5 separate regions of the Homo sapiens genome follow, and regions 1, 2, 3 and 4 are each linked to region 5. Evidence: promoter capture Hi-C in human tissues and cell types (Jung and others, 2019). All regions are on one chromosome and are shown on one strand. The core of a region is centred on a gene start or on the middle of the fragment in contact, and the rest is flanking DNA. Distances in the headings are between cores, read along the strand shown.

Evidence for each region. Contacts are between HindIII fragments. The study calls those that stand out against the background at their distance.
Region 1: a contact is called between a fragment that was not itself captured here and the fragment with the promoter of MRPS35 in region 5, in 3 of the 25 tissues and cell types used here (H1 embryonic stem cells, lymphoblastoid cells and neural progenitor cells).
Region 2: a contact is called between a fragment that was not itself captured here and the fragment with the promoter of MRPS35 in region 5, in 2 of the 25 tissues and cell types used here (adrenal gland and lymphoblastoid cells).
Region 3: a fragment that was not itself captured here is called in contact with the fragment with the promoter of MRPS35 in region 5 in 2 of the 25 tissues and cell types used here (H1 embryonic stem cells and lymphoblastoid cells).
Region 4: a contact is called between a fragment that was not itself captured here and the fragment with the promoter of MRPS35 in region 5, in 1 of the 25 tissues and cell types used here (IMR-90 fibroblasts).

The regions. Positions count from the first base shown.
Region 1 is chr12:27,963,743-27,969,133 of GRCh38, reverse strand. It overlaps PTHLH (parathyroid hormone like hormone), which reads left to right. Exons shown (of 6, transcript NM_198965.2): 5 at 5,364-5,391. Among named protein-coding and RNA genes, the nearest start is that of PTHLH, 6.3 kb to the left of the region's middle. RefSeq lists an enhancer at 1-252. The HindIII fragment of the contact is 6,179 bases long and covers 1-4,457 here.
Region 2 is chr12:27,374,197-27,379,576 of GRCh38, reverse strand. BMAL2 (basic helix-loop-helix ARNT like 2) reads right to left here. Exons shown (of 17, transcript NM_020183.6): 4 at 3,190-3,231. Among named protein-coding and RNA genes, the nearest start is that of BMAL2, 44 kb to the right of the region's middle. The HindIII fragment of the contact is 3,078 bases long and covers 1-2,789 here.
Region 3 is chr12:27,398,053-27,403,239 of GRCh38, reverse strand. It overlaps BMAL2 (basic helix-loop-helix ARNT like 2), which reads right to left. Exons shown (of 17, transcript NM_020183.6): 10 at 2,466-2,706; 11 at 1,877-1,983; 12 at 1,566-1,716; 13 at 563-621. All of the region lies in intron 1 of BMAL2-AS1 (BMAL2 antisense RNA 1), which reads left to right. Among named protein-coding and RNA genes, the nearest start is that of BMAL2-AS1, 46 kb to the left of the region's middle. The HindIII fragment of the contact is 4,832 bases long and covers 1-4,425 here.
Region 4 is chr12:27,439,307-27,444,696 of GRCh38, reverse strand. All of the region lies in intron 1 of BMAL2-AS1 (BMAL2 antisense RNA 1), which reads left to right. It also overlaps a transcript of SMCO2 not described here. Among named protein-coding and RNA genes, the nearest start is that of BMAL2-AS1, 4.6 kb to the left of the region's middle. The HindIII fragment of the contact is 5,519 bases long and covers 1-4,760 here.
Region 5 is chr12:27,706,933-27,712,491 of GRCh38, reverse strand. It overlaps MRPS35 (mitochondrial ribosomal protein S35), which reads right to left and starts at 1,660. Exons shown (of 8, transcript NM_021821.4): 1 at 1,537-1,660. The coding sequence starts at 1,648. MRPS35-DT (MRPS35 divergent transcript) reads left to right here and starts at 1,745. Exons shown (of 5, transcript XR_001749448.2): 1 at 1,745-1,829. RefSeq lists enhancers at 1,240-2,029, 2,040-2,119, 2,150-2,229. The HindIII fragment of the contact is 7,635 bases long and covers 1-5,559 here.

The DNA of each region.
Region 1 (5,391 bases), core at 119-2,618, 260 kb before region 5:
TCTAGGGAAAGATCCTCTGCCTCTAGTGGAAAAGAAAAAAAGTTGGGGGGTGGTGGTTACTGTCAGGACCCGGGAAGCTTCTGAAACTCGGAGGAAGCTGAGCGGTCCTGGGGACGTATGGCCTGCGCGCTTGTATACATACTGAATGTGGGTGGCGGTTTGCGTGTGAAAAAGCAAAAGCCGTACATCTAATTTTATTATGAATGACATAATTTTAAGCATATAAAATAGGAACACATTACATAATAAAAGCGTATTATATAATAAAGTAGCAACAACTTTGCAGTGGCACGACTCCAATGTTAGTATTGATACAGTTCAGGAACGCTAGAGCGCTTGATTCCAAAATGAATTTTAGGTGTGGAACCTTTTTTTTCTTGGAGTTATTGCTAACAGTTCTTTAATCTGGAGTCAAATATTTGCATTGTAGACTGAAAACTTGTATTTTGGCATTCTCACTTGGTGATTCTTTTAATGATAACTTCAACTTTGAAATAATCATACATCCAAGCACACCAGAGAAATATCACTATGTCGTGTGACTGAAAACTTGGAAGAGTGATAGAGTAACATGATCTTAATAATCTGTTGGACCTAGCAGTTCACTAATGTGTATAACACCATAGTTGGGTGATCTTTAAACTGCAGACTCAGTGTTCAGAATGGGAAAACTATAAAGTTCGAGAACTGAGATGCGTTTGACTCTGGAGAAGGAATTAAGGCAAATTTTTACACTAACAATAAAAATAGCAGTATCTAATATTTACAGTCAGGTTTATGGTGCTTCCTTGTAAATTCCCGAGGGTGTACAAAAAGGCAACTGTTTTATACGTGCTTGTGGTCTATTATTATTAGAGGAGAAAATCCTTAAATGAAATTACTTTAGACATGTCGGAACCTTGGCATCAAAATGAAAATCTATTATGAATCTCCTAAGGCAAATTGTGTAGAACATTATACCGAAGATAAGGCTGCATTGTATTCTTCAGATCAACATTTTACCGATGTGTTTCTGAAAATTGTCTTCAGACTTTTTGCTCATTTTGAAACTTGTCTTAAATTCAATAATTTGAAATTCATACATAAATAGAAATGAAGACTGAATTTTTAAAAGCACACTTAAATACTATATTTATTTGGCTAAGAAATACTACCTTGGAACAGAGCCAATTTTTTCTTTAAAGTTGCTTAAGAAATACCTGTTTTCTCTTTTGAGAAACAGCAAATGATTCACGATTATATACACAACTATGGCATAAAAATACTGCTAAGTTGTCCTAAAGGCTATTTTTAACTCTTTCTTTGTTGCACCTTACAAAACACACATCAGAAACCATTTAGCAGCCAGCGACTGTTATAGTTTTGTTTGTGGGTGAAATATAATATTGTAGTTAAACACTCACACTCAGCAGATGGTTATAAAACTACCACAAAACATTCTCATAGTTAATGGGTAATAGATCATCACATTACAGGCATGGTTTTTCATGGAGGCTGAAATCATCAGTAGATGAAGATGTTTCATCAAATTATCATAGCCAAATGGAGTTTTTAAAAACAAGTCATTATTTTTGTCTTGCTGCCAAGTAACAGTAAATTTTGTGTGCTAGACAAAACATAAGTCTACCATTATGCTAAATCAAGCTAGTTTCTTGAAAGAAATTTTAACATATAATCAAACCATATTACTCCCCGGTTTTCACACCAAGTATTAGGGAAACTGCTTTAGAAGTATAGATTTTTTTTTTAACTAGATGCTAACTTTTAAGGGAGAGGAAATTACTATAACAATAAGACTTCCTAAACCATGCAAAGGAAGCAGTTACAAATTGTGAGTCTTTTTGACCTGTTAATCCCAAAGATTTTAATTAATGGAGCTAGAGCATGATCAAGTTGGATACTGGAAAGTGAGGCCTATGGATGTTCTTGTGCAGATGAACAAGGCTTCTGGCAGGTGGCTATCTCTATGTTTAAGTTAGAGAGGGAACTCCACAGATTCAGAAACCTAAAACGTCATTGGCTGATTTGCTTAGGAGCCAGACTGGGTCTATTCCATTTAATGAAAAGCATAACTTTCTACTGAGTCATTTGGGTTGGAAGGACCTTCTGGTGAGTCATCTTAACTCTAACACCCTAACCCTGTCTCTTGCATGTACCACAGAACTTTTCTTCTCAAACACAGAGTCCGTCCTTAGAAGCCTAGCATCAGTACAAGCATACTGCTTCTTCCTGTGCTGGAAAGGGAATTTCCATCACTGTTTTTATGCCCTCTGTTCCTTGATAGTTCCTTAGAAATCTAAGCTTCTTCCCTAAAAACTCCCTTGGAGTGATTTTTTTTTTAAAGGAGAAGAACTATGTTTGGGCTGAATTTAGGGTTATCTATGATAAGCATTTCCCCAAAATTTTGCAATTTTTTTTTACAATAATCAAAGGAGAACATGATACATAACCTACCTGTTTTTCCATTTTGGAGCTTAGGTATGTAAGTGTCATGTGAACCATAGTGCTATGTAATGTTTACAGACAAATTGAGTAAAAGACTATTATTGAGGCCATATTTACAACTTAAATATTTCAGAGTTATCTAAATTGAAAACGTCCTTAATTTGAATTTATTACTCACTACCTCTGTATACCTAGTTTATACTGATGCCATTATATTCCTGATCCTCTAATGCAACTGCCTAGTGAGAGATTCATTCTTCACAATACTTTAATTGCAGAAGTTTTTGAAATACTAAGTAAAGTGTCTAACAGCATTTCCAATTTAGCATTTAAGAAAACTTGTGTTTTCCAAGATACTAACAGTTTCCCCCAAAAGGCAGATGAAAAGCTTTGTCCCTCGTAAGCAATGTACTATTTTAAATTGAACAAAGCTGTGCCATATTGTAGGCTTTTTATAAATTAGAAGGATGGAATGATCACTGCATTTCCCAAGAGAACTATCCTGGGAAAATGCAGCTTGAGTTAGGAAGGCACTGTGACTCACAGTTGACAGGCTGGCCAAGATGACAAGCACATATGCCCATGAGAAGGGGCATATGAGCAATGGTGGCTTAATTAGAATAGACCAACCATTAAAAGTTTTGGCCTCAAGTTAAGCTAAAATGGGCTACACTTTATCCATTTGGAGAGCAATACAGAAGACGAGGGCTTCTGCCAGGAACAGAGAAAGAAATAAAAGCCCCCAATACTATAAATTATCAGTGGTTAAGAACTGCTTTTTAATGTGACATTTTGCTAAAAGATACTTATTAAACTGTAGTGCTTATGAAATATGCAATTATATCTGTCCTATTATTTTATAAATGTTATTAAAGGATATAAATACCTTGTACCAAAGCCTCAAACTTGTAGATTCTTAAAAGTTTCCAGAATACTAACTATTACCGCAGAGTAAGTGAATTTTAATCTAGTCACATGTGGCACCTTCTAAAAGAAAGAGAGACTCCTTCATGCCTCATTTAAACCAGGCTCCTGTTAAATTCCTTTCCATTAAGTCATGTCTTTTTTGAATGAGCTACATGGCTTCAAGTCAGTCCACACACTAAAATACTAGAAGGTAGCTGACATTCTAGCTAGAAGGGCCAGAGAAATGATGACTGTATTTTCATCTCTTACTCTTTTCTTTGACTCATTCATCCAGTGATAATCCAAACTCTTGTAGTTCCTAAATTTGATGATGAAAATGAACTTTCTGGGCAATAGGCTTGATCTTCAAGGAAACTGATAAATTTCTGTCCAATCTGCCTATTATTGTGGTGGCTTGTTACTCTATGCCCCATGCATATACCCTGTACTCTCCTTACCGTGTTGCCTCAACACAGGAACAGGCTGGGACTTCAGCTTCAGCTTCCGCTTAGGCAGGAGAAAGCGTTGAGGAAATTGAAAAAGCAGTCTTGGCTTTAGAATCAGAAGACCTAGTTTTTGGAGCCCTGGCTCTGCCAGTTCTCATTGTGTAGACTAGGGCAAGTCATTTAACCTCTCTGCACCTCACTTTCCCCATGAATACAATGGGGGCAGTAATAATGCTATTTATGATTGCCATATTTCTCTGAGGAGTTAAAGACATTGCACCAACAAAGGCAACAAAGGACCCAGACACCATTGTTTCAGGGAAGTAAGAGTACATGGGATGTAGCCCTGGGAAACACTTTGAGATGCTTTTGAGGATGGGCCAGTTTGGAGGACTATTCCAATGGTAGAAATTGGAGTTAATGCAGAGTTGAAGCAGGCATGATATGACTGATTAACAGATGCAGTCCGTAAATATGGTTAATAATATACACAAAATAATAAAAGAATACACAATGGACATTTAAGCAAGAGTTTGGGTGTTATCTAAAAGGATTGATAGAGAATTAGTTTATTCTTTCTCACGATATTTTCATTAGAGTGTCATTTAAATAGAAAAATCCTTTATATTTTTTCCTAGAGAATTTTAAGACAAAGAGAGCAAGTAGAAAAGTGAACTTCTCAACTAAGTAGTAAGGATCATACTCTCTGAAGTTCTAAATTTAAAAAAAAAACATGAAGCACAGAAGAAATAGAATGAGCTCATTTAAGCACACAAAGAAACCCATTTTAAGGAGACCACCCACTACTTTACAGAAAAATACACATACTCTCCCTCTCTTTCTCTCTCTCTCTCTCTCTCTCTCTGACGATTGGCCTTCAAATGTATGTTCTTGGTAGCCAGTAGTCTAAAATGTTAAAGTTCAGTCTGTGAATCAGATGGTTTCCTAGACAGGCTACACTGCTCACTTCTCCTTCAGCCTTTGTTTGTTTTTACTCTTACGGCTTGCTGTTTCAATATTATTATTTTCTTAATGGGGCGTGTGTGTGTGTGTGTGAGAGAGAGAGAGGAGAGAGAGAGAGAGAGAGAGAGAGAGAGAGAGAATACTCAGGTAAAAGCAGCTGCCTTTTATTTCCCAGGCTGGGACTTCTAGATTTATTTTCTCAGCAGAACTCTGAAAAATGTGAAGAGATACTCCGTGGTTTCTGTCTATTTCTGATCATAACTGAATCATATGTTTTAAACCGGGAAGGAAGTATAGAAATCACTGTCTCTGACCCCTTCCTTTTATACAGTTGAAGCCCATGAGGCCCAAGAATGTTCATGTTCCCACCAAGGTCACAACCTAGTGAGTGGTAGAACTGGGACCATGAGCTGGAGCCTTCCAACTGCCAGCTCTTTCCTTCCCACTGGTTACCCTTCCCTGCGCAATGAGCTTGCTACCCATCCAGCTTGTGTCTTACGGTGGACCAACTAGAAAACTAAAGAGATTTACTCATGTCTTTGTTGTCTCTATCAGCAACTAAAATTTAACTGTTTTCTTCCCCTCTAATATTTTCTTTCAAAGCAAAAGAGCTGTGTCTGAACATCAGCTC
Region 2 (5,380 bases), core at 1-2,500, 330 kb after region 5:
TCATTCTCCCCTGGTCTCCACAGCCTCTCTGCCTCCTGGTCCTCCTCCACTCTCCCTGCTCGGTTCAGTCCCCTCGTCTCCTCACCCAGCTCTTACTTGATCCTTAAATACTGGTGTGCACTAAGATTCCCTGCTTAGCACCGCTCTCTCCTCACTCTTTATTCACCCTGAGATCTCATTCCCTCACAAGGCTTTACAGCTACTCATAAGCTATTTGTTATTATAACCCTATCTCATTCATACTTCACTCAGTTCCTGACCTTTGGAACTAGAATTATAAACCTAAATGATTCTCAAGAAATCTAAAATTCAAGAAACCCCAAACTGCATGCATTCTCTGCGATGTACCCCCATTTTCAATTCTTCCTGTACTACTCCTGATTTATAGGGTTTATCTTCCTTCTATAGGGTTTATCTTGGTAGGTAACACAACTAGACTCAATCTAGACTAAGCTTGTCCAAACTGTGCTCCAGGATGGCTTTGAATGCAGCCCAACACAAATTCATAAACTTTCCAAAAACATTATGAGATTTTTTTTTTTTAGCTCACTAGCTATCATTAGTGTTAGTGTATTTTATGTGTGGCCCAAGACAATTTTTCTTCTTCCAACGTGACCCAGGGAAACCAAACGATTGGATACCCCTGGTTTAGACCCTTCCTCTTCACCCTAAAAAGCCAAAGAATCACAAACTCCTGTCAATTCTAGATCTTAAAATATTTCTTAAATATGTCTTCTCTTCCTCTCCATCCCCTCTGTCATCATCTTAATTTAGGCTCATTGCATTACCCCAAAACCTTTTAAACTGCTGTTCCTTCCTCTCCTAGTCTATTCTATGACTTCCAAAATTATGTAGTAAAACAAATCCAGTCACCTAATCCCCTTGCATAAAACTATTCACTGCATTTCCACTGCCCAAGAGGACTAGCCAGATTCCCTAATTATAGGCCAGGGTTCTCCCTGATCTGCCTCATGTCTTCATCTCCAGTTTCTCTCTTCAAGACTTTCCCCGACAGCTCCAAATGTTCCACAGCAGCAACGCCTGAAGACTTGCTCATCCTCACACATGCCATACCGTCTCACATCTCCTCCATGCCTTGCTCTTTACCAGGCTTACAAAGTCCTTTCTGACTATACTGTTGGAGAAATCCTATTCTTTCTTCAAAATCCAACTCAGTTATTCTTCTGGGAAGCTTTCTCTGACTACTACATGATTAATCACTGCTCTCTCTAAGCTACCTCAGTACCTTTCATACCACTACCCTTATTTCATCAAATCTAAGAGCCACCAATTGTAAGACGCACTATTATTTAAAGCATCACAAGAGAAAGAAATGCTGCCAATTGACAGGAAGATGCCACTGATGATAAGAAATTTCCACAGAAGATAAAACGTAGAGGAGAAAAGTGTATCTTAGATTTCAAGAATTACATGATTTTACCTGTCACACTTTGCTGTAAATCCCTCTCCTACAACACACAGCAACTCCAGAATTTCTCTATTAGAATAGTTTAGGGGCAATCTGATGAGAAAGAGGGTAAGTGGGAGACTTCCCTGATCTGTTTTTATAAAGACTTTAAATTGGATAAAAGAAAGTGTAATTTTTCCAGATAAGAGTAGGGAGGTGGGTAGGGAGGAACACCGATGAAGGCTGTGGGAGCTACCACACCCCCTGCCCCAACCATTCACCCTCGGCAATGACACTCCTGGAACAAAATACACACTGTTGGGCGAAGTGGATAGGATTCAGATTAAATTGTATTCACATAAAATTCAGTTATCTACTCATACTTTGTTCTATTTGTGAGCAATTAGATTTTTTTCTTTATCTTTTTAAAGACAAGGTCTCACTCTGTTGCCCAGGTTGCAGTGCAGTTGTATGATCATAGCTCACTGCAGCCTCAAACTTCTGGGCTCAAATGATTATTCTGCCTCTGCCTTCCAAGGAGCTGGGATTACAGAGCAATTTGATTAAAATTAAAATGTTATGATTAAAAGAATATTGTAGTTACACTCTCACTAGAAGGATCATCTCTTCTAACAGTATTCCCCATCAGCATGGACAGCAGCGATGGATAGAGACTCCTGACTCCAGGATGTACAGCAGAGGAAGGGGTGCTCTCTCTGAGCCAGGATCTGGAGAGAGATGAGAGCAGGGTGGGAGAAAGCCCACTGTGGAGAAGGTCAATGATGATGCTGGGAGCCAGGAAACCCAGGGCAAGGTGAAAGAACCAATGTCTGAATAAAGTACTTTACTTGAAAGAGCTACACCCGAAAAGGTTTCTGGAGGCTTTCATTAAGGAAAGGCATATTTATCCAGAGGCTAGCTCTCTGCTTAATACTTCATCAGAGCTCTGGCTCCTAATTCTGTGTACAGTTACTGCCATGTTGAACCATGGCAGTATTTTGTAGAATCCTATCAGAAAACAAAATAAGTGGAGAAAAAGCAAAACTCTGATAGGCGATGTTGCCAGATGTAGAAAAATATTTTATTGTTGTTGTTGAAAAAATATGTTGAAATAATTGACAAAGAACTCATGAGGATGGGTTTCTTTTTTTTTTTTTTTTTTTTTTTTGAGACGGAGTTTTGCTCTGTCGCCCAGGCTGGAGTGCAGTGGCGCGATTTCGGCTCACTGCAAGCTCTGCCTCCCGAGTTCACGCCATTCTCCTGCCTCAGTCCCCCCGAGTAGCTGGGACTACAGGTGCCCACCACCACGCCCGGCTAATTTTTTGTATTTTTAGTAGAGACGGGGTTTCACCGTGTTAGCCAGGATGGTCTCGATCTCCTGAACTCGTGATCCACCTGCCTCGGCCTCCCAAAGTGCTGGGATTACAGGTGTAAGCCACTGCGCCAGGCCGAGGATGGGTTTCTAACAGTCAGATGCCCCTCATAAGTAACTGATTTGTTTAAGTCATTGATCAATTTTTCTTTAGTGCTTGAAGAAAATAATAGGTTTTTTTTTAAGCTATTCTAAGAGAAAGTTAAAGGCATGAAAGCCAAAATGTTATCCAAGTAGACAGAAAAGCAAGACATCAGGTGCCTGATAACATTGCTTCTCAGAGCATAACAAGAGAGAAAAGCCTCATCTTCAAGCCCTTCTACCTTGGTGTCACCTTTGCCTTAGGCTACAGGCTTGCCTTTGTGTACCTTTCCACTCACCATGTACCATCTCAACAAGTCAATTGTACCTGAAGGCCTTCATTTTAACTTGGTGTTCACCATCTTCCACTCTACAAAAAAGCAGGATAAAATATCAAACTACATGAAGTACCTTTTCTGTAGTTCTTGATAGAGAAATAGATGTGAGATTAAGTCCAATCAATCATCCTAATTCCTATAAAATCCTTAGCTGTAAATGCTCCCTTGAGCACCTAATGACCTGAAATGATTCTTACTGTCTACATGAACCATTCTCCTCCTAACGCTGACAGGCAACACCATTCCCATAAGGATAACAAAAGTTATGTTAACTGACAGTGAACAATAATTAGTGTGCTACTTACATAATTAGATATGATCTCATGACAAACTTAAGCAAGAATAAGATTTTCATAGAATTAACATTAAAGTTATTAACATCATTGATGGCTTAACCAAAAACTTTATGATAGCTGTATTAAAACAGCCTGAAAATGGATTAAGAATCCCAGACCTTTAATCAAAAGGAATTTATTTTGCCTAAAAATCCACCTGGATGGTAACCAATATTGAAAACTGGAAACTCTTACCAATAATATTAATTTTCACATTAGTATAGTTCCTAGCATCAGAAATGTACTCAGCAGACGATTACTAAAATGAAATACGTTGGTAGTGATAGAAGACTGTCAGCATTTAAAAATCATGCAGGCTGCATAGCTTTTAAAAATATGTAATCTTAAAAGATTTATTTCCAAATGTATCGTTTTGTGGGAGATTTGAAAAATTCCAGGAAAAGCACCCATAATGCCACCTGGAAGTAATCACAGTTAATATTCTAATGTGTCTCCTTCCAGCATTTCCTAAACATGTAGATACATACAATGATTATTTAGCTTAGCCATGGTGCATGGGTACCATGTAGATATTTCTGTGTGTTCTACATGTATAATAAATAAAACTCAGATCATAGTATATAATTTTCATGTCTTGTCTTATTCATTTAACACTCTAACATGAATATTTCTGCGTAGTTTCAAATATTCTTGGATAACATAATTTGAAATGATTAAATAGTAGCCCACTGATTAGTTATAATTTATTCATTTGTTATTGTTGGATATTTCAACATTCTAATATTTTCAATATCATAAATAATATGGCTAATAATATTGTGGTGTGTGCATCTTGAATTATACTCTAGGATAAATTCCTAGAAGTACAATTTATGGATAAATATTTTAAAGCTTCTGATTCATCTTAACAAATTTCCCTCTTTACAGATTTTTAACAATGAATATTTTTCAGGCTTTGAAGAAAGGCTGGCCTACTTTAGAACTGTCTTATTCAGTTGAACTCTTTTGAGGTTTTAGTATTTTTCTACTTAAAAAAAGATAACACTTATAGAAAATTTAATCAAATTTATAAATAGATGCTTATAAATATTCCAAATAAAAAAGACCACGAAGACAAATGCTTAATCAAGTGGTGCTTTTCCTCTTCACAGTTTCAATCAAGAAGAGCTTTTATATTTATGGTACTTTATCAAAAATATTTCCACACTTGATTCTCACAGCACAGTGGTGAAGTTATTACTACCCCCATTTTACAGATGAAGGAGTTGAGTAAAGTTAATGACTGTGCAAGGTCCTATAACCAGTGGAGGCCAAGTGAAGACTACTCAATGCAGGCTGGTGCGCCTTCCACCATACCTGGCCATTTCTCTCACCACCGTCAGCCTGTTGTGTGGTTGGTACAAATAAAATTAAACAGCCTCTCTGAGGCAAAAGAGAGGGTCAGATTAAGTCAGCTTCTTTTCCCTTTTCTCTTTTTAGCCATCTTAAAGGAATAATCAGAAAACAATTATACAGATGAATAATTTTCTTCCTAATAGTCTGGAATTATATATAATTGTCCCTCAGCATCCATGGGGGACTGGCTCCAGAGCCTTCTGCAGATACCAAAACCTGTGGATGTTCAAGTCTCTTCACAGTATTTGCATACAACCTATGCACATCCTCCCATATACTTTAAATCATCTCTAGATTACTTACAATACCTAATAAATGTAAATGCTATGTAAATTGTTGTTATATGGTATTGTTTAGAGAATAATAACAAGAAAAATTAGTTTGGATATGTCCAATACAGACTTGCTTTTTTTTTTCTGGATATTTTCAACTTTTGGTTGGTTGCCCATGGATATGAAGGACTGACTATATATATGTATGTATATATACA
Region 3 (5,187 bases), core at 760-3,259, 310 kb after region 5:
GTGACTAGTAACCCTTGACTCCAGTCTCTTGCCACTTTAATCTCCACAGCAATACTACTTCAATGTTTCCTAAGATTTTTATTTTTACAAATAATACATTAATATATTCCTGTGGTGAAAAACTCACACAGATAAGCAAAAACTCCCCCAATACTTTTCGTTAATTTGTCCAAGAGTGTCACAATTGACAAGGAACAATGTTAGCTGCTAGGGCTGAAAAATGGATAAAACATCATTCCTGCCTTAAAGAACTGTCTACTGGAAAGCAAGTTGAATGAACAACTAATTGCAGTATAATGCAAGATTATAACAGAAAAGTGAGCAAAGCACTGTGGGAATTTTGAGGGGGACATGGTGATACCTCTGGGAGTTTAAATGGGATATCTATTTCCCGTTGAATTTAGTCTCTTCTAAACCAAAGTTGGGATTCCTATAACCCAACCTGCAGAACTACTTTTAATTTCACCTTCAAATTTTCCCCTCTCCAGGACAGAAAAAGATAGTAATAGTCTTAATAATATGTCTTAGTAATAAGTCTTCCATCATCTAAAAGTAAGCTTACCTTCTGATGATTGAGAGCTACAAGGTAAAAATGATGCTTCTCCAGGCTCACTATGTCCCCTAGAATTAAAAACACCATAGGTGATTTACTTTCTAAGGTGAAGGAAACTGTTATAGCAACTACACTAAGATCTGTATATTTAATTTGTCAATTTGTGGCCCATTTATGTTTTATATACACATATTGTTAGTATCACCACCAGAAATCAAGGTCTTAATGTGCTAAGTATCATGGTGTTTGCCAAATGCCCCATTCCTCTATAAAGTATGTGTTCTCACAATAACAAACTCTCAGTTCCTGTACTAATAATAAGTAGGCAAAGACTACTGGGATGGGTGACAGGAAATACTGGAAGTATTAAACTTTTTTTTTTTTTATTATTTTTCTCTCAGTATTGTAGACAAGGAAATAACTGGTTCAAGGAAACCTTACAGCAATTTCAAAGAGAAACTTACAGAAAAAAAGTAAGACTTACAACGGGGCCATCCTAGCCTCCTATAAAATCAGGAAAACTTGACTCTTCCTTCAGGCTGACACAGCTACAGACCAGAGCTTGCTAAAGCAACACCTGGGCTGGATTTCTGTTCTCCCCCGTGCTGAGCATGCCTACACAGACATGGCGGCACCCCAGGCTTATAAGATGTGCAGGTAAAAATGACAGGGAGGACAAAACAATTTCTTACAATAATGCACAGTAGAAATCCACGTCTGCATTGTTTACTGAATGGCCATGGAGGGTAGGAAGAAAATGCTTGAATAAATGCCTTTACCCTCACATATTATATCAAGTAAGAAGGAATGTATTACAGAAATGAAAACTTTTAGCTTAATTCTGAGAACTAATGTCAATGAACAGTAAATGAATTACTCAAAAGATAAATCTCAAGTTACAATAAAAGGCCAGAGGATCACACAGTTTTAATGGTTTAGCAAGATGAGAGGAGAAAAGCAAAGAGACTCATTTGAAATCAATATAAAGGTCTTAACATAAAAAATTACTTACAAAACTAAAGTGTTGACAGATACAATATATTCCAGTTCTTTTGTCCAAGGATTTGTGAAACTAAACCATTGGCTTTTTAAAGTTACAAAAGAGCCATCTTTTGCTCTGAATTTGTAGGAATCTGTAAGTATTTTCTCCTTACTCTGTAGAACTTAACGAGAAAAGATAATTATCAGCATAATAGTCAATGACTATAAAAATCAATGTTGTGAAGATTAATTCAAACTTCAAATTTCACAGGAATGGGAAATTAAGAGTTAAAACTGTCATTTTAAATTCCCCAAAATGTATTCTGCTCAATGCATACCTACCTGCTTTGTGCTTGTCAGTCAAATTATTGTGGTCATCTTGATGAAAATATTCATAACAAGAAGTTCCCAAAAGTTCCTGAGGCAGATATCCTAAAATCGCTGTTGCCCTGGTTTCAAAATTGAAAATAAACTTCAGAAGTGGTGAGTGTACTCCCTCCCAGAAGACTGTAGGCCCACATATGGTCAGGATCGTAAAGAAGTGCACAGGGTAGGGGATGAGTGACCCATGCATATCACTGGGCTCCCCTCGGCTGCCCTAGACCCAGACTAGAGCTGCAACACAGAACAGGCACCCAGGCATGAAGCCTCCACCCGATCCAGGCTGTGCTCCTACTAGCTTTTGCCAGTAAAATCGTGGCCACAGATCATGCCCAGTTTCTGCACCACTGGCTAAGAGACACTCTTCCAAGTTTACATGTTGGCTTAAGCAAATTTACTGACATGTCCATATTCTTATTTCATTTAAACTTTATTTTCTGTTCTGAAACAGAAAAAAGAAAAAGAAAAACTAGCAGTGCTACTAAGACACGCCTTTAATAGCTTCAAATATCCCATTGAATTCTAATCATTATAACATGTAAATGTTTACCTTTGATCTACATAGACAAATTTTCCATTCACTGCAAACCGGGTTATAAATTCAGTTGGTTTCACATTAATCTCTCCACTGTTCTGTGGAACAATATATGGCTGTAATCTTCCAATGGCCACAAGGCAGGTAAAATTACTGTTGTCTTTCTTACTGTTCCTTTCTTCTTCCATTCCAACAATATTTGGAGGCCAGCTTCTCAAGTAACCAGTGCAATGGATAGTATAGAATTTTCTGTGCTCTAATTCAAAGATTTTTAAAAAGGACATTTGGATCATTATAAATAAGTCATTAAATTTCTTATATTGACATCTATAATAGTTATAATTGTGCTATAAAATGCTCTTTAAATATGCTAAAATATGAAAGGGGAATGGTATTCCATTGAAAAGATATCACCAATTTTGTTTATTTCATGACTTTATTATTAATAGATTATTTTTCTCAGGAACTAAATTGTATGTACTACATGAAAAAACGAACAGGTTGCTCTATTTTAGGATTAACTAGGTCTATGACTTAACATATTTCCAAGTCAATTTTTAAAATTATAGTAATTTACATCTATTAGAAAAAATTAATCCTCATGCCCCCTTGCAATATTGTTTTCACCTTATTAAGTTTTTTGGTATATCGTAACTTATATTCAAAACTTTAAAAAGACATTTAAATAATTATGCATACATTCTTAAATTTCTTATGTTAGTGCTTATAATGGTTAACAGATACATAAGGTTATAATAGATTATAGAAACATTTTAAAGAACACTTGGAGAAATTTATAGTGAAAAGTACAAAAATAAAATAAATTTCACTTTTTAGGAAAATCCCAAGCAATTAACTCATAGGAAGAAGCTTGTCAAGCATGTCCACCAAAATAATAAAAAATTGGAAATAATCTATATCCTCAAATATCATGCTTAAGCAAAAAATAAATCCAATACGGGCATAAACAATGAGTAGGCTACAGATTATGGCATGCCACAAAAGTGATTTAAAGGTTAAAAAGTAGGGGGAAAGCCTGATAAAAATTATTTGAAACAGCTGTTTTTATGATAAGATTTAGAAAAGATTAGAACAATCATTGTTTCAAATTGGCACTATTTGGTAAAAGTTCCATTACAATAAATCCTTTAAATTTTTGTTTAAATAGAACATGATATGAACTGTCATATAAGATAGTAGTTAACAATAATAGCAAAGATTTAGAGAATACTTTATGTGTCACAGTCTGTTTAAAGTGCTTTAAACGTATAACTCATTTAATCTTAACAGCTCTATGGGATGTTCTAGTATCTCCATTGTCCTAGGAAACTGAGTTAATGGCAAGGTCACACCAGGTACAGGATGGAGCTGGGGTTAAAACTCAGGCTGGCTCCAGAGCCCACTTTCTAAATCACTAATGCCACACCATTTGCTGATAGTGAGTGCTCTGTCACCAAAGATGTTCAAATAGGAGTTGCCTGGGTGACAGAAGGGGAGGGGCACAAAGGTGTTCCAGCCAGAGGGAATGACCAGTGAGAACTGAGAGAGAGCGGTCAGATGCGGCTGAAGCATATGCTGCAGTGGGAAAGGCTGGAAAATAAAGCAGGGAACAGAGGGCAGGTTGTAAGCCATGCATAAAACCTTGTATCCAACATTTCACAAACACCACTCCCTTCCCAGGCCACAGATGCCCTAAATTACAAAACTCCTTACCTCTTCCAACCCAAACCCAGTCTTTATCACTTATTCCCTACCCTGTTTACTGGTGCCACGATCAACCCAGGCAGTTCAAAGAGAAATCTGGGGGTCATCCTAGGCTCTACCTCCCCCTAACAACCCAGATGCCTCAAAGGAATTAAAATTGAGTAAGTACGAATAAAAGTTTTCATTTAACAAAGCTAGATGGCAGTTAAAAATAAAAGGGCTTATACATCAGGTTCAGCATTTTTGCAAACTTATGAATGATACTGACTAAAAATATTCCACTCTACTGAAAATATAGACTTAAGAAAGTCTGTATTTTTAATTTATATATGTAATCTCATCACATAGAACCTAGCCTGTTGCATTTACTTCTCTCTTACAACAGGTTACTATCTATATTTCCAAATCGAACTGTCCCTCACTTCTCACTGTGAACATTTATTCAGTTGGCAAATTTCTAGCTGGGATTGTGTAATTCTATCAACTGCAATTCATTTGATCAGCTATCTAAGTTTTTTTTTTAAAAATCCCATTTAATCCATTTCCTATTTAGAAAAGAAAAAAATACAGCTCGCTACCAGTGCAGTATTCTCAGGGCAAATGGGAAGTGGGTTAAAAATTCTTATCTCAATAATTCTTTAGCTTTTTATCTAAATATTGGAGTCATGAGGACTGATCCTTGCCAAACTATTTACTTACATCGGCTCCACAGGCTAGATTCAAGTGTCATCTACTCCATGAGTTCCCAAATGTGTGTGGGGGTGAGGAGAGGGAGAAAAAGCCTGTATTACCCTAAACACTGCCTTAATTTACAGGACATCCTTTCAAAATCCTTTATGAAATTTTTCCTCAACATGTTGCAGGCTAGGTCTCTCAACTTGGTGTCTTGCTGTCTTCACTTGAAATCTTGAGGAAGCAGATCCAAAACAAGGATTCAAATATAAGAAGTTTATTTGAGGGGTGGTCCCAGGAAACACTGGCAGGGAACTGGGAAATGAGACACGGAAGAGAAGGAAGCTAATAAAGTACCTGA
Region 4 (5,390 bases), core at 752-3,251, 270 kb after region 5:
TAGGCCTCTGTTACTGCCTGTCCTTTTGATACAAGCTATTTTAACTGAGGTGACAGATACGATCACATTGTGTTTTTTATTTGCATTTCTCTGATGATTTAGTGATGTTTACAAATATTTTCTCTCATTTTGTGGGTTGTCTATTCACTTTGTTAGTTGTTTCCTTTGCTGTGCAGGAGCTCTTTAGCTGGATGTAATCCCAATTGTCTATTTTTGCTTTGATGGCCTATACTTTTGAGGTCTTACACAAGAAATCTTTGCCCAGACCAATGCCCTTGAGTATTTGCCCTGTGTTTTCTTCTAGTAGTTTCACAGTTTCAGGTCTTAGATTCAAGTCAATAATCCATTTTGATTTGATTTTTGTATATGTTGAGAGATAAGGGTCTAGTTTCATTCTTCTGCATATAGTTATCCAGTTTCCCCAGCACCATTTATTGGAAAGACTGTCCTTTCCCTATTGTATGTTCTTGATGCCTTCGTCAAAGATGAGTTGGTTGTAAATGCGTGGATTTATATCTGGGTTCTCTATTCTGTTCCATTGGTCTATGTGTGTCTGTTTTTATGCCAATATGCTGGCATACTGGCATAAAATCATGCTGCTTTGGTTACTATAGCTTTGTGGTAAATTTTGAAGTTAGGTAGCGTGATGCCTCCAGCTTTATTCTTTTTGTTCAGGATTGCTTTGGCTATTTGAAGTATTTCATGGTTCCATATAAATTTTAGGATTGTTTTCTCTCTTTCTGTGAAGAATGTCACTGGTATTTTGATAGGGATTGCATTGAATCTGTAAATTAATTTGGGTAGTATTGTAATTTTAACAATATTAATTATTTCAATCCATGAGCATGGAGTATCTTTCAATTTTATTGTGTCCTGTTCAATGTCTTTCATCAGAATTTTATTGTTTTCCTTGTATAGATCTTTCACTTCTTTGGTTAGATTGATTCCTAGGTGTCTTGATTTTTTACAAATTGTTCACTGGTGGCATATATAAATACTATTGATTTTTGTATGTTGATTTTGTGTCCTGCACCTTTATTGAATTTATCAGTTCTAACAGTTTTGTGGTGGAGTCTTTAGGTTTCTCTAGGTATAAGATTTGTCATGTGCAAACAAGGCTCATTTGACTTCTTCCTTTCCAGTTTAGATGCCTTTTGTTTCTTTCTTTTGCCAAATTACTCTGGCCAGGACTTTCCAATATTACGTTGAATAACAGTGTTGAAAGTGGACATCCTTGTGTGGTTCCAGTCTTTAGAGGAAAGGCCTTCCATTTTTCCCTATTCACTATGATGTTAGCCATGGGTTTGTCATAGATGGGCTTTATTATTTTGAGGTATGTTCCTTCTATACCCATTTTTGAGGAGCCTTTTTATCATAAGGGGATGTTGAATTTTATAAAAATGTTTTTTGGCATCTATTGAAATAATCATATGGTTTTTATTCTTAATTCCATTAATGTGATATATCACAGGTATTGATTTGCATATGTTGAAACATCCTTGCATCCCTGGGATGAATCCCACTTGATCATGGTGAATGATCTTTTTAATGTATTGCTGAATTCAGTTTGCTAGTATTTTGTTGAGGATTTTTGCATCTATGTCCATCAGAAATATGACCTGTAGTTTTCTTCTTTTGTGGTATTTTCTTCTCTGGTGTTGGTATCAGAGTAATGCTGGCCTCATGGAATGAATTTGGAAGAATGTCCTCTTCAATTTTCTAGAATAATTTGAGTAGGGTTGGTATTGGTATTAGTTCTTTAAATGTTTGATAGAGGCCAGGCACTGTGGCTCATGCCTGTAATCCCAGCATTTTGGGAGGCCAGGGTGGGAGGATCACTTAAGCTCAAGAGTTCAAGATCATCCTGGGCAACATAGTGAGACCTTGTCTCTACAAAAAAATCCAAAAATTGGCTGGGTGTTGTGGCGCATGCCTGTAGTTGCAGCTATTCAGGTAGCCAAGGCAGAAAGATCACTTGAGCCCAGGAGGCTGAGGCTGCAGTGAACCATCCACTGTACTGACAAAGTGAGACCTGACAAAGTGACTGGCTGACAAAGTGAGACCCTATCTCAAAAAATAAATAAATCAATGGTTGGTAGAATTCAGCAGTGAAGTCATCAACTCCTAGGCTTTTCTTTGATAAGAGACATTTTATTATGGCTTGGATTATTGGTTTGTTGAGGTTTTCTATTTCTTCATGGTTCAATCTTGGTAGGCTCTGTGTGTTCTGGAGTTTGTCTGTTTCTTCTAGGTTTCCAATTTGTTGGCATACAGTTGTTCATACTAGTCTCTAATGATTCTTTGTATTTCTGAGGTCTCAGTTTCTATGTCCCATTTTTCATTTCTGATTTTATTTATTTGAGTCTCTTTCTTTCTCTTGCTCTTTTTTAAATTAGTCTAGCTAAAGTTTTGTTGATTTTATCTTTTCAAAAAGCCAACTTTTCATTTCATTAATTTTTTTGTCTCAATTTCATTTATTTCTGCTCTGATTTTTATTATATCTTTCCTTTTACTAATTTTGGATTTGGCTTGTTCATGCTTGTCTAATTCCTTGAGGTACATCATTAGGTTCTTTATGTAAAGTCTACTTTTCTGATCTAGGGATTTATTGCTATTAACTTCCTTGTTAGTACTGCTTTTGTTGTATCACATAGATTCTGGTATGTTGTATTTCCATTTTCCTCTGTTTCAATTCATTTTTAAGTTTCTTTCTTAATTTCTTCATTGACCCATTGGTTGTTCAGGAGCATGTTGTTTAATTTTCATGTTTGTATGTTTTCCAAGGTTGCTCTTGTTATTGATCTCTAGTTTTATTCCATTGCGGTCAGAGAAGATACTTGACATGATTTCTATTTTTTTGAATTTATGCAGACCTAAGATATGGTCTATTCTGAAAAATATTCCATGTGCTGATGAAAAGACTATGAATTCTGCAGCAGTGGGGTAAAATCTTCTGTAAATGCCAGTTAGGCCTATTAGATATAGTGTGTAATTTAACCCCACTGTTTCCTTGTTGATTTTCTGTCTGGATGATCTGTCTATTACTGTGAATGAGGTGTTAAAGCCCGCACTATAATGGTACTGCAGTCTCTCTCTCCCTATTAATGTTTACTTTATATTTTTGGGAGCTCTGGTGTTAGGTGCATAGATGTTTATAATTTTTATATCCTCTTCCTGAATTGACCCCTTTATCATTATATAGTGACCATCCTTATCTTTTTTATAGTCTTTGATTTGTAGTCTATTTTATCTGATATAAGTATAGTTAGTCATGCTTGTTTTTGGTTTCCAGTTGCATGGAATAGCTTTCTCAACCCTATCACTTTCGGTCTACGTGTATTTTTATAGGCGAAGTGGGCAACTTGAAGGCAGCATGTAGTTAGATATTACTTATTTATCAATTCAGCTCCTCTATGCCTTCTTTATTATTATTTTTTTGAGATAGAGTCTTACTCTGTTGCCCAGGCTGGAGTGCAGTGGCACGACCATGGCTCACTGCAGCCTTGACCTCCTGGGCTCAGGCGATTCTCCAATCTCAGCCTCCCAAGTAGCTGGGACTACAGGCGTGTGCCACCGTGCCCAGCTAATTTTTATATTTTTTTTGTGGAGACATGTTTTGCCATGTTGCCCAGGCTGGTCTCGAACTCCTGAGCTCAAGTGATCTGCCCACCTCAGCCTCCCAAAGTACTGGGATTATAGGCATGAGCCACCATCCCCAGCCACTCTATGCCTTTTAATTAGAGAATTGAGACAATTTACATTCAGTGTTAGTATTGATAAGTAAGGACTTACTACTGTCATTTTGTTGCTTGTTTTCTGTGTTTTGAGACTCCTCTCTCGCTTTGTGGTTAAGTGATTATCTCTAGTAGTATATTTTAAATTGTTGCTTTTTATTTTTAGTGAAGCTACTATAGGTTTTTATGCTGTGGTTACCTTGAGGCTTACAAAAAACATTTTATAGATATAAAAGTTATTTTAAAGAGATAACAACTTATCCTAGATCACAAATAAAAGACTAGAAACAAAGGCCAAAAAAAAAAAAAAAAAACCCACAGAAAATTCCACACTTTAACTCCACCACCCCCAGCACACATTTTGACTTTTAGTTGCCTCAATTTATTTTAATATTGCCTGTCTCTTAACAGGTTGCTCTACCTATTGTTGTTTTTGTTAGATTTATCTTTTAGGCTTCATTCTAGAGTTATAAGTGGACTGCACACCACAAGTACAGTCATAGAGTATTCCGGGTTTGTCTGCGTATTTAATTTGCCAGTGGAGGTTATACCTTGAATAGTTTTCCTTTGCACGTTAGTGTTTTTTTTCTTTCAGATTGAAGAACTACCGTTAGCTTTTCTTGCACAACAGAACTGGTGTTGGTGAATTCTCTCAGCTTTTGTTTTTCTCTAAAAGATTTTATCACTCCTTCAAATGTGAATGACAATTTTGAGAATACAATATTATTGAGTGACAGGTTTTTATTTTTCTTTTAGCACTTTGAAAATGTTTTTCTATTCCCTCCTGGCCCCTGTGGTTTCTGTTGAGAGGTCTGTGGCCAGATGAACTGGAGCTTTTTAATATATTATTTGCTTCTTATCTCTCACTGCTTTTAGGATCTTCACTTTGTCTTTAGCCTTTGGGAATTTGACCATTAAATGCCTTGGGGTAGTTTTATTTGGGTTGAATCTGTTCGGTGTTCTAAGACTTTCCTCTACCTGCACATTTATATCTTTCTCAAGTTTAGGGAAGCTTTTTATCATTATTTCTTTGAACAAGCTTTCTACCTTTTGCTGTTCCTCAGTTTCCTCTTAAACACTAATAATTCTTAGATTTGGTCTTTTGAAGTTTTTTTCTATATCTTGTAGGTGGTCTTTGTTCCTTGTTCTTCTTTTTCTTTTTTCTTCTCTATGTATTTTCAAATGCCAGTCTTCAAGCTCACTGATTCTTTCCTCTGCTTGGTTCATTTTGCTGTTGAGAGCCTCTAGAGTTTTTCAGCTCAGCAAATGTATTTCTCAGTTCCAAGATTTCTGTTTCAGTTTTAAAAAATCATTTCAGTGTCTTTGTTAGATTTCCCTGATAAATTTCTGAATTGTTTTTCTGTGTTATCTTGGAGATCGCTGAGTTTCCTTAAAACTGCTGTTTTGAATTCTTGGTTGGGGAGCTCACAAATTGCCGTCTTGTTAGGGTCAGTCACTGGATTTTTGCTTTGTCTTTTTGGCGAGGTGATGGTTTCCCATTTGCTTTTGTTTCTTGTGAGTATATGTCTACGTCTTTGCATTGAAGGATTAGTTATTCAAGTCACTGCCTCCTTTTCAATTCTAGGTGACCTTAAGCTAAGGTTCAGCTTGCCTATAATAAATGGTTGAAGCACTGCCTGTCCCAAATGGGGAAGG
Region 5 (5,559 bases), core at 411-2,910:
GCAACAGCCTCCAAACAGATCTTTGGCTTCCACTCTTACCCCAGTAAAGCAGCCAGTGATCTTTTAAAAACGTAAATCACATTATATCAGTTCCCTGTTCCAAGCCTTTCAATATAAAACCCAAGCCAAAAATCCAAATGAAATGTCTACAAACTCTTGAGAGATCAGATTATTACTTAACTAACTCTCTGACGTCTTATACTACCACTCTCTCCTCTACTCACACTTAGCTCCTGCCACATTGTCCTTCTTCCCGTTCCTTGATCACACCCCTCAGATTGTTCTCAACTTTTGGCCTTTGCACTTATAGTTCCCCATACCCCAAAGGCTCTTTCCCCATATCTCTGCATGGCTTGGGGCCCTGTTCAAATGTCACTTCCTCAGAAAGATCTTTCCTGACCATCCTGTGGCCACTACTCCCCCCAAATCCATCATTCTCAATACTCTACTTTATTTTTCTTCAAAGCATTAAACCCTATCTGACATCTTATTTAGTTGTTTGGTTGTTTATACTATTGACTTCCCCACCTTGCCGTATCTCCGGTGAGTGTCTAGAACACTGCATGGTATACAATAGGAGTTAAGTATTCCAAGAATTTAAGAATGAAAATTTAAAAATAGACAATTATTAGACCTATGAAGAGCCAGTATGAAGGATTAATGTATTTATAGTTTATCTGAAAACAATGGGAAACCATTTGTAGATCTTGAACATGAGAGCAGCAAGACAAGATCTAAATTTTGAAAACCTCATTTGGCTGTTTTGAGAATTCAATGTAGGAGAGCAAGAGGGGAAACAGGAAACGGAAAAAAAACTTGTAGAAATGAGATGGTCACCTGAACTAGATAGTTGGTAGTATGAGGAGAGTAAATTAGAGATATAACAGGAAGTAGCACAGGTAGGATCCGCCTATTGATTAGACTCACGCCAGCTCCTCCTCAACGCTCCCGTCATTCTAGCCACACTTCTATCACAGCGCCTCTCACCCTACATAGCACTTCTCCGCTAATAAATCTGTATTTTCCACTAGAGTCCTCCGGGGTAAGCACGCTATCAAGCATCCCTACAATCTCTGTTAAATGGAGGTCATCAACGCCTGTTGAATGAAGGCCGCCCATTTGGTGGCCTGGAATTCAGAGCAGCAATTTGTCCTAGCACAGCCGTATGACTCTCTTAATGTTTGGGGAAATCCATGGTTCAACAGCGCCGATGCCCGATAAACAACACAGCACCAGTAACCTGTGCCAGGGGCTGTGGACGGGGGCAACACAGGAGCAGGTCACGGGGAAGGGGGATGTAAGCTTTCTGAGCAAACTCCCAGAGCACCCAGGGCAGAAACAGGCGGCTAGAAGCCGGGCAACGCGGGTGCAGAGCACAGACCCACGTCCATGGTTTTCCTACCAGACGGGCCTGGCAGCGGACGCACTGGCCTCCCCCGGGCGGCGCTGGCTCAGCCACCGCGGCACCCTTCATGAGGCCGGTATTCCGCTCTTGCACCTCCCCCAAAGCCCAGAGAAGACGAGACAGACACTCACGCAGGCTAGGTGTCGGGACCGGAGTGGCCGAGTAGACGGCAGTGGAGAATGCACGCAGAGTCCTTGCCCTCGACTGCAGAGACAGCCATGCTGGGAGCGCGGCGGCCGCCATGGCTGCGAGGACGGCAAGCCGGAGGGGACAAGCGGCGTTCAGTGTCAGGGGCGGGCCTGGGGCCGCTAAGCGCAGGCTCCCTGGGCTGGCACCGCCCTAGGCTGGAGAAAGAGGAAACACGTTGGTCTGCGCACTCAGAGCCGAGTCAAATGTGCAGGAAGATTCCCCCAAACTGAAAGAAGTAATGAAAAGAAAACAAAAAAAATCCTTAAAAATCGAGTGAATCAGTTCGTAGAGAATTGCAGATAAAGACCGTAGGGATAGGGGTTGCGGCTCACTGAAGGCGGGCGTGCTCTGGGTGGAACCTCAGTTGATCCGAGAGTCAGGCGGTCTACCCGAGGGACTCTTGTTATTTATAATTGTTGCTTTTCTACATTTACTTGGATTAAAGAAGTCTTCAACTAATGCCAGTAATATGCGCTAAGGGGAGAGAAGCAGTATCCCGAGCCAGAGTGCTTGGGTTTCAAACTTGACTTCACCACTTCTGGGATGTATGATCTCAGACAAGTTAGCATAGACAAATATTTGTGTACAGCGTTGGCATACAGTGAACACCGCGTGTACGTAGCCTATAACTTTTAGCTATATATGGTTAGCTTGTTGTTAGATCAGCTTAGAATTACAGAAAGTCAGAACTCATCAGGACCTAGAAAATAAACTTTTAATGAACACTCTTAAATTTTCTACGGTAGGATGAATTAACATACAAGCCTTAATAAAACAATTCTCGGCCGGACGCGGTGGCTCGCGCCTGTAATCCCAGCACTTTGGGATCCCGAGGCGGGTGGATCACCTGAGGTCAGGAGTTTGGGACCAGCCTGACCAACATGGAGAAACCTGGTCTCTACTAAAAATACAAAATTAGCCGGGTGTGGTGGCACATGCCTGTAATCCCAGCTACTCGAGAGAAGAATCGCATGAACCCGGGAGGCAGAGGTTGCGATGAGCCGAGATCGCGCCATTGCACTCCAGCCTGGGCAATAAAAGCAAAACTCCGCCTCAAAAATAAAATAAAATAAAATAAATTCTCTATTTTCTCTTTATTTTAAAAATTATTTTAATTAATTAATTAATTATTATTATTTTTGAGACAGAGTCTTGCTCTGTTGCTAGGCTGGAATGTGGTAGCAGGACCATGGCCCACTGCAGCCTTGACCTCCCAGGCTCAAGTGATCCTCCTACCTCAGCCTTTCAAGTAGCTGAGGCTACAGGCACGCACCACCACACCCAGCTAATTAAAAAAAAAATTGTTTTTCCAGAGATGAGGTCTCACAGTGTTGCCAGGGCTGGTCTCAAACTCTTGGGTTCAAGCGATCCTCCTGCCTTGGCCTCCCAAAAAAGTGATAGGACTACAGGCGTGAGCTACTGCACCTGGCCTATTTTTTCTATTTTTAAGTTTTTTGTAGAGTTGGGGGTCTTGCTATGTTGTCCAGGCTGGTCCCAAACTCTTGGCTTCATGTGATCCTCCTGCCTTGGCCTCCCAAAATGTCGGGATTACAGGCATGGGTCTGGCCTATTTCCCTATTTTGTCTCAAAGTGACAAAATTATAACAGTAAAAACAACTAAAAATAAACAAAACCGATTCTTGGTAAGCATACAACCAGTAGAGCAGAGGTATGCAGGTGTCCAAGAATATTCTAGCTGTGAACATTCAGTGCGCCATGGACATCAATCAGTAAGGTATGGGAGGGGGACAAATAGCATGAGATGGACAAGTATTTGTAATATTCATCATCTTCATCTTTTCTGGACTTTTACCATCCTGTTATTGTTCCAAAATAGAAGCATGATGTATGAGTTTCCTAGGGGATTGGAACAAAGTACCGTAAACTGGGTGACTTAAAACAACAGAAATTTCCTCTCTCACAATCCTGGAGTCTGGAAAGTCCAAAATCCAGGTGTCGGCAGGGTTGGTTCCTTCTGGAGGTTCTGAGGGAGAATCTGTTCCATGCCTCCCTCCTAGCTTCTAATGGTTGCTGGCACTCCTTGGCTGGTAGACACATCACATCACATCACCTTCTGCCCCCATATTCCAATGGAGTTCTCTCCTCTCCTCGGACTATTTTTAAGATCAAAATCATGGCCTTTTTAATCAGATGGAGGTGAGGTTTGAATCCAGGCTCTGGTTCTTTATGATTTTGGGCAAATCTACCTTATCTTTCTGAGTTTCAGTTTCAAGGAAAATGACAGCAATAATATTTTTCTTACGACAGTCGTGATTAAAGGCATAAATATAAACGGTGGGCATTGGCATTAAGTGTAGGGTCAATGCAACAGCCTCCTTTTCTTGCAAGTTTGTATATTTTAGTAAAGTGCAAGTCCTATACCATAGAAATTTAGGGACAAAAGGAGTATGATCATATTCATACTGTTACCAGCGGCAAATCTGTACAGGTCTGCGGCAACCTCAATTCTTGCCTCCTCAGAAGAAAGAATTTGATCGAGGAACATAAGGCAGAAGGAGAGACAGAAGCGACTTTTAGAGCAGGAGTGAAAGTTTATTAAAAAGCTTCACAGCAGGAACAAAAGGAAGGAAATACACTGGGAAGAGGGCCAAGTGGGCGACTTGAAAGTCAAGTACCCCATTTGACCTTTGACTTAGGGTTTTATACGTTGGCATACTTCTGGGGTCTATGTCCCTTCTCCCCTGATTTTTCCCTTGGGGTGGGCTGTCTGCATGCACAGTGGCTTGCCAGGACTTGGGAGGGGAGCATGCATAGTGTGTTTATTGGAGTCGTATACATGCTTACTTGAGGCATTCTTCCATTAGCAGTTGCACGTCCCTAGAAGATCAAATACCAGTTAAATTCTGCCATTTTGCTTCTTAATGTGCACGCTTGCGCACACTCACCCAGCTCCTGAGATCTTACTGGAAAGTTGCTGATCACTAGTTTCAGGTTTTTTGTATCTATTGGGAGAATGCTATTCCCTGGTGCTGGCTGCAACCAATTATTGTTTTAGAAAGACAGTTAATAACCACCTGACCGTCACCTGATGGTCGCCTGAAATTCCTGGGGTGTGCGTGTGTGTGTGTGGAGGGGGGTGTGTGTATAAGGGGAGCCCTCTCCTGCCCTGCTCATTCATGACTAGCTACCTACTCTAACAATATTTCTTAATTTCTGAGCAAGATATTAAAGACATAGGTCCCCATTCTACCTTGCTATGCGTTCTATCTTTTGTTGTACTCTCTCCCTAAGACTAAAGTGGATAGATGACCAGAGCTAGAGGAGCCAGAAAAATACTTATTGTTTTCCGTGGCATCAAGTACAGTAAGTTTCATTCTATAGTAAAAGTTAAAAATTCATTCATAATGCTATTAATGCTATCAACAAGCAAAAATATCTGTCTTGTGCAGTGTAAAGAGTAAAGCATGTACTATCTTGCACATAGGGGTTACTAAGATTACATAATTTTTCACTTGGCAGTGATCTTAGAGGTGCAATCATTCACTCACGATAAAAATATTTTCTTTGCTGGGTGCAGTGGCTCACTCCTGTACTCTCAACATTTTGGGAGGCTGAGATAGGGGAATCACTTGAGCTCAGGAGTTTAAGCCCAGCCTGGGCAACATAGCAAGAGCCTGTCTCTACAAAAAATACAAAAATTAGCCAGGCATGGTGATGTGTGCCTGTAGTCCCAGCTACTGGGGAGGCTGAGGTGGGAGGATCACTTGAGCCCAGGAGGCAGAGGTTGCAGAAAGCCGAGATAGTGCCACTGCACTCCAGCCTGGGCGACAGAGTGAGACCTGTCTCAAACAAACAAAAAAAATATTTTCTTCAAACTTTGTGACCATGTAATCTAACACATCATAGAAGCTAGGCTGGCTTCATAGACATACAACGTGCCTGCGCTTGGCCTAATGCTTTGCTGTTGCTGTCTTAAAATTCTTAATACTTTTTTTAACAAGGAG